Regions from separate parts of the Homo sapiens genome. Here region 2 is linked to region 1. The links are contacts of gene promoters, found by promoter capture Hi-C in blood cells and fetal thymus (Javierre and others, 2016). All regions are on one chromosome and are shown on one strand. The core of a region is centred on a gene start or on the middle of the fragment in contact, and the rest is flanking DNA. Distances in the headings are between cores, read along the strand shown. Region 1 holds the start of AGFG1 (ArfGAP with FG repeats 1). Region 2 overlaps RHBDD1 (rhomboid domain containing 1).

The links. The method cuts DNA at HindIII sites, captures the fragments that hold promoters and counts their contacts. A CHiCAGO score of 5 or more calls a contact.
Region 2: a fragment that was not itself captured here is called in contact with the fragment with the promoter of AGFG1 in region 1 in 1 of 17 cell types (total B cells); the score reaches 5.1 in total B cells.

What each region holds. Positions count from the first base shown.
Region 1 is chr2:227,470,361-227,473,840 of GRCh38, reverse strand. AGFG1 (ArfGAP with FG repeats 1) reads right to left here and starts at 1,685. Exons shown (of 13, transcript NM_004504.5): 1 at 1,253-1,685. The coding sequence starts at 1,419. MIR5703 (microRNA 5703) reads right to left here and starts at 1,709; the gene lies at 1,654-1,709. It overlaps LOC124907994 (a long non-coding RNA gene), which reads left to right and starts at 1,742. Exons shown (of 2, transcript XR_007088114.1): 1 at 1,742-2,681; 2 at 2,852-3,053. RefSeq lists a silencer at 977-1,696 and an enhancer at 1,809-2,772. The HindIII fragment of the contact is 6,204 bases long and covers 289-3,480 here.
Region 2 is chr2:226,904,630-226,908,109 of GRCh38, reverse strand. It overlaps RHBDD1 (rhomboid domain containing 1), which reads right to left. Exons shown (of 9, transcript NM_001167608.3): 6 at 1,229-1,317. Among named protein-coding and RNA genes, the nearest start is that of RHBDD1, 70 kb to the right of the region's middle. RefSeq lists a silencer at 3,114-3,263. The HindIII fragment of the contact is 2,206 bases long and covers 730-2,935 here.

The DNA of each region.
Region 1 (3,480 bases), core at 436-2,935:
CATGTAATACTAATAATGCCTCTTTGCCCAACTTTAAAAAGCAAATAGTACATACTAGACATGTTCTGCATTTTCTAAGTTTTAAGAAATCAATTTTCCCACATAAAGTATTATGTGCTTTGTATTAATCTTACAAGCAAAGGTTTTAAAAATACTTAGTAACTGCCACGTTGTTAGTAACTTTAAATACAAGATAATAATATAAAAGCATTTTATCAATTCCAAAACCACCTGCAAATTTTCCGAATGAAATTGCACGGCAATAAAAATCTTTATCAAAATAAAGCTTAATGAAGCAAAGAACAACAAACACAAATCATCCCAGTAACTCAGGACGGTAGTGTCTTTCTGAAATCATGGTGACTTGCTAGCTCTCCTCATTTCTGTGTACAGCCAGGGCACTCGGGTATTGATAGCGAGATACAGATAAATCTCACAGATAACTCCATCATATTTAGAATCACACAGCTCCTAGTGGGTACCTTATTGCCATTAAAACTTTCCCCCAACTCCTCAACACTCTCTTCGGACCATAAAACTAAAATCCCACAGCTTCAAATCTGCTCCTCTGCCTCCCCCTCCCGCAATTAATCCTTTCGAACTTTTCCCAGGGGATTCACATCTGCCATCAAGATGCTTTCATCCTGCTACTATTCCTAAGTGCCTGCTTCCTCCCAGTTACGTAGGTACTCTCGACCCAGAAAAAAGGCACGGGCGAGGCAGGCGTCCCTCCCTCCCACCCCAGCTTCTCCCCGACCCCCAGCAGGAGCGCCCAGCAGGTGCCTCGCTCCGCACCGCGGCTCCCGGGCCGCTGAGAGGCGGGGCACACAAAGGACCCGCATGGACCTCCCCCCCGGCCTCCTAGCGTCTTCCCCCACCCCCCACAGCCCGGCGCCCCGGGTAGCTGGAGAGCGAGGGCGGCGGCCGCAGGCTCGACGGAGACCAGGGACGCTCGCCCCGGTCGCCCCCTCCCTGACCCCAACCCCGCCCACGTCCCACCCACGAAGGCTGCCCAGAACGTAAACCCTCGCCCGGCAAAACCGAAAACGCATCCCCAGCCCGGCTGCCCGGGCCCTGCGCATCCAGCCCGCAGCCTCCCACGCCGCGCCCGCCAGCCGGCGCCCAACGGCCGCCCCCGACCGCCTCCCACGGCACCCGGCTCTTTCCCAGCCCCGGAAGGGTCCCGGTCCCGCCGCCCGCTCCCCCACCTCCCGGGAAGGGCCCGACACCCGCCCGGCCGCCCCGCACTCACAGGCTGCCGGAGCAGGAGGTACACACGAAGGAGCCGACCGTCATGTTAACGTAGGTGGGGCCGCGCTGGTCGCAGTCGAAGCACTTTCGGTTGTGCGGGAGGCCGGTCATGTCCCGCAGCATCTTCAGGTGCTTCTCCTCCTGCTTCCGCTTCGCGCTGGCCGCCATGGCCGCGGCGCCAAGGGAGGAGGCCGGCAGGGCCGGGAGCCGGGCAGCGCTGCGCCGGGGGCCCGCGGTCCCACGGGCCGCCCTGGCCGCGGCCGCCGCCCTCCGTCTGCGCGCGCCGCCCGCGCCGGACCCGGCCGCAGCGGCTTGGCTGTACTGGGCTCGACGCGGCCCGGGCGCTGTGGTACGCGGGCTGACGGGCCACACCAACCGGCACAGCCGGGACAACCGCCGCCGCCGCCGCCACCTTCCCGACTTCTCCTGAGGGGAAAAGACGAGGAAGGGGACGGCAAGAGGAGGCCCGCCCTGGGCGGCCGGTAGCCAAGTGTCCGCTGGCGCCCTCTGCTGGCCAGGAGGAGTCACTGCGGCCTCGCTGAGGCATGGGCCGGGTCTGGAGCCAAGTAGGGTAGACACAATGGTGATAATAATATTAATAATAGACAGTATTTATTGAGCGCTTATATATGCAAAGCGTTTCACATGGGTTACCTTCCCCTTCTGTTTAAAACTCTTCAAGGGCTTTCCACTGCTTTGAGTATAATTCCAAATTCCTCACCGTGCCGTAAAAAGTGCTCCATAGTCTAGCCCAGTCTACCTCATTCTTCGTCGTCCTCACTCAGCCACACTGGATTTTGAGTTTTCTGAACACAGCAAGCTCCTTTCTGACTCCTGCAGGACCTTTGCCCTTGCTCTTCTCTCTTTATCTTTGGGCCAGCTAATTTGGGGGGGCTTGGGGTGTCCTGTGCACTGTAGGATACTGGGCGGCGTTCCTAGCCTATACCCACTAGATACAAGAACAAACCCCCCAATTCCCATTGCTGGCAACCAAAAATCCCCAGACATTGCCAAAAGTGGAGGGAACTTTAGGGCGGTGCAGTCACCTGGCTTGAGAACTGCTGCGTGTGGAAACCCGGATCATCCATAGCTGACATCCTCTAAGTCAGGTGGGGCTCAGATGTCACCTCCCCCGCCAGACTGTCCCAGATCAGCCGAGTTAATGTTGCAGCTCACCTTTCTCGAAGTTGCTCTCCATCAAATTGCTGCGTTGTATTTTCGTCTCAGTTCTAGCTATTTGAAATACTGCATCTTATTTCGTGTTTACCATGGGTGATCTGGACTCTCCCTTTAGGCGCTAAACAGCCTGGCCCCCGTATTTTCTGTGCCACTCCACCCCATTCCCCTCGCAGAGCTGGAGACTAGGTGTTCAATGTTGACGGAATGAATACATGAAATCGTTCATGTAATCTTCACAACAACCCTTCGAGGTGAGCGTTATTGTTATTTACATTTTACAAAACAGGAAGATGAAACCCTGAGGGATTAAGTAAATTTACCCAAGGGTACCTATGGCGAAGCTCAATTCCAACCCAGACAGCCAGACTGCAGGACCCAAATCCCCACTGCAACAATCAACTTCGTCTCTCGTTTTCCAAAGGAGTACAGGGAGACCCAGAGAGCTGAAGTTCTCAAATCACTGGGCTGTTGAATGGATTAGAATCTACGTTTCCTAACAGCCAAGACCAACCTCCACATCTCTCATGAAAGGGATTGGGTGAATCAACAAAGTGAGACTTCATATTAATATAATACTACTAATAATAATTAATGTTTTTAATATTAAAAGAAATGGACAGATAGATTGGCCAATGAATGTTTTTAAACTTTTCTATTATGGAAAATATCAAACTACCATGAGCCCATGGACCACTTTCAGCAATGATTAAGCCCATGGCTAATCTTGCTTTATAAATACCTCAACCCTCCATCCCCTCTCCTATTATTTTAAAGCAAATTCTAGGTTTCGTACCATTCATCTAAATGGTACATAGTTCCATTTGTATCCCTAAAAAATAAAAACTTTATCTCTTTCAAACTTAGCCATGATACCGTTAGCATATCTAAAAAGTTAACAATAGGCTGGGCACGATGGCGCACACCTGTAATCCCAGCACTGTGGGAGGCCAAGGCAGGTGGATTACCTGAGGTCAGGAGTTCAGGACCAGCCTGGCCTACATGGCGAAACCGGGTCTCTACTAAAAATATGAAAATTAGCCAGGCATGGTG
Region 2 (3,480 bases), core at 583-3,082, 570 kb after region 1:
GTAGAAATAAGTCACCACTTATTTTTTAAGGCTTTTAAAACTAAGAGTTTAAATATTATAATTAGGGGAAAATCCTCTTTAAAAATTAAACAAAGCACTTGCTTAAATTTCATAACATGTCTGCAAAAAGCTTTACTAACCGCTTCATCATGAGACACAGAAAAAAGAAACAAGACATTAAACTCCCGAGAATCATCTCTTTTATCAGTACTAATGAGTATTAAATTGTATTGAAAATACAATAAAACTGGACATTTTCAATAAATGAAGCTCCCACTGCCTCCTCTAAGTACGTACAGTGGAAACACATTAATAAGCAAACGTGGGAAAATGAGGATCTGCTTAAATGCAACACAGCCTGTAAAAATCAACCAAAAGTGAACACGACCTGCTAATAAAGGTGCCAGTGCAGTGCCTGGAAAGCTTTCTACTATCATGAATATTATATGGTTCTCAAGAATACCAGTCATCAGCACAAACTGTGAAACAAATTATTTATGGTTCAAGAAAAGGTAAAATAGTCTCAGAAGACTTCCCATGAATAAAAGATGAAATAGTGGAACTCAGTCTATAAAACAAGTGTTTGCAAACCAGTTTTCTTACAAGTCAAAATGAGAATCGCATTGAAAATTAAGAGGTCTAAAAAATACAAGTATTTCTAAATGAAATATTTTCATTGAGTATCAATTTGAAGGGAAAAACAAAATTAAAAAAAGCAGGAGCTAAGCTTCAAGCAATAACAGACTTGGTTTCGCCATGCATGAATATATGGCTCATCCACCAAGGACCCGGTCATCAGTCTGAATTCTTTAAAATACTGGCCATGCACTTCAGTCCAGGCTTTGTTTTCTTTTTCACCTTTGCCTTGCACGTATATTAATTCATGGACTATTATAGAAGAATGCATTATTTTAAAGGCACTTTAGTTCTCTGCATTCTTTAGGAAATCGTGGTTTTCTGCGGGTAGCATTAAGGTTGAGGGTATAAATATATACTGATATTTGTCCCCTAAGAAAGTATCAGATTCGAAATTTAAGTTTGCAGCCTCTTTTGTGGAGCAATGTAAGGAACTGCACTGGTTGTTTTACCTTTCGGTTTAAAAAGAAAAACAGGCATATTAGGGAATTCTTGAGCTGAACCACAGGGAAACTTGGGGTTGCTTCTGTTCACATTAAAATTAACATGAACTTCCAAGCTGTTGTCATGCCAAAGGTGTTTTATTCTGTACCTGCACATGCTTCCATGATTTTCTTCAGAGGCCCTTGAGTGTACATTAGTCCAACAAGAATCCCAGCCAGATGCCCAGCGAAGGAAGTCCTAGGAGGGAAGGAGACCCTTTGTGAGTGTTTGTTCTGCTGCTGATTAGAGACATTCTGTCTTCTCATTAGCCCAGTGCATGTCAAATAGTCACAGTCTGCAGGCTTTGTTCCACATCAAGTCTTTTATGCTAAGCAGCATTTAACTCAGTCCAAAGAACAACATCTCCTACCTTAAAAAAAAGTACAATGAATAACAACCACCACATGTTTAAAACGCAACACCCCTCCTTAACCAGGGGAAGTGGGTTGTCTCCTCCAGAGCAGTGGAAGCATTTGGTCAAGACAAGTCATTACATCGCTTTCCGTTTTTTTTCTGTACCTCTTATCACAAAACATAAATAAAATCAGTTTTCTCTGTTTGGCATTAAATCTGGAATTATCCAGCCATTGTGAGGGATGATGTCTATCTGTGTTATGGCAGGGCAGACTGCTGCAGTTTTCTACACCATGGATGAGTGAAGCAGAGAGCAAGTGAAACTCAGCAAAAGGAACTGAGATGCCCACCTGCATCCACCAAAGTTGTCTTCATGTGTATGTTTCAGTCACTCAGAACAAAGAAACATACATTTAAATTTCAAACTTGAAAGATGAGTTAGGGCATGAAAGTGTTTGCGTTAGGGCATGACAGTGGTTTAACTCTTCTTAAACTGGCATCTAAAACCAGCAATTACTTGTAAGATTTATTTTCAGAGGTCTACTTTGACCCAAGTGGCAACACTCTTTGTGGAGTTCCCTGGCTGAATGACCTCCCAACCAGCCTGAGTTTAAGAAATTACTGGCGATTCTCAAAAACCTCTGCTGTTACCACAAAGGGGGGGGTCCTACACAACGAGTTGTTCTTTAAGCACTTGACCTCAATTTCCAGCTGCCCGCCACCCTCTAGACACCCCCGCGCACACATGCACACATCCACTAGCACCTTAAACTAGACTTTTCTGGGGTGCCACTCCCACTTCCCGTTTGTAATGCCTCTCATACCCCTCCCAGCCTTCCCATTCCTACTGCCACAACCATGCTTACTGCCATCTGGACTATTTGGAAATGCCCAGTGTTGGGCACAGAGTGAACCCCAGATGAATGTGTGTTGAATGAATAAAATAAATGAAAGAAAATCATCCAGCTGGTCTCCCTGCAAGCCAGCTCTTGCTCTCCAGTGCATCCCACACACGGCCATCAGTTATCCTCCTGAGGCAGAAGGCAAGTGGTGTCATTGCCATCCTCTGAAATCCACTGGTTCTCACAGAATACTCCGGTGTGTGTTTAAGCCCTTCCAACACTTGGCCTTGCCCATCTCTGCAAAGTCAGAGGGTGGAGACCTCATCGTCTACTACCTCCATTCCCACATGCCCCACTGTCACATCCCCCAAGCACTCTCTGACCATAGGCTAAGCCAAACAGCACCTCTGTCAAAAAATGCCACCCCAGTTGAAGAGCCGTTCTTTCCTTCTCCTGCCTCCCCTCAGAGCTGAGGCTCCTACCTTATTCTGGCACGAAGCCAGTCTGCTGGTGGCACAGTACTTACACGTCTGCCTGCCTGTCCGTCTCTCTCTGTCACACACAAACTCCCTGAGGGCAGCAATGGTGTCTCATTCATACATTATACAAAATTAGAAGCTTAAAAAAAAAAAAAAGCCAAGCAAATGAACGCATTCCCACAGCCTGGAATAGTGACCTCTCATTCCAGAAGGTGGGAAACTGAAAGTTATGAAAGAGCCTGATGGAGACTCCAAGAACATAGCCTTTATGTGGCTTTTACATATGTATTCCAAACACCCAGGACAGGGCCAGGCACATGAGAGGCACTCAAGGATATGTTGAGTAAATGGCTCAAGTGTGCCAGGACCGTTTCACCAAGACCAACAGGAGGTAAGTTAAAACCACTAGATGTTCAGCTCAGGGTGCTTGCTGAGCCACGGCAATCACAGAGCTAAGAATCCGCCATTTGGTAACCTACACGAGACTCAGAGTCAAAACCAATACATTTCGCCTACTATGGCAGCAGCCTAGGGGAGATTCCCTGAAACACCACAAGCAAGATGGTTCTGAGTAATTTTCTTTGTCTCCAAGCTATGAAAAGACTCGCTGGCTCTCAGGAAAAGAACATGCAATGAGGAACACTTGAAAGAAAGAGACAAACAGGAGCCTTGTAAAGAGAACAGCA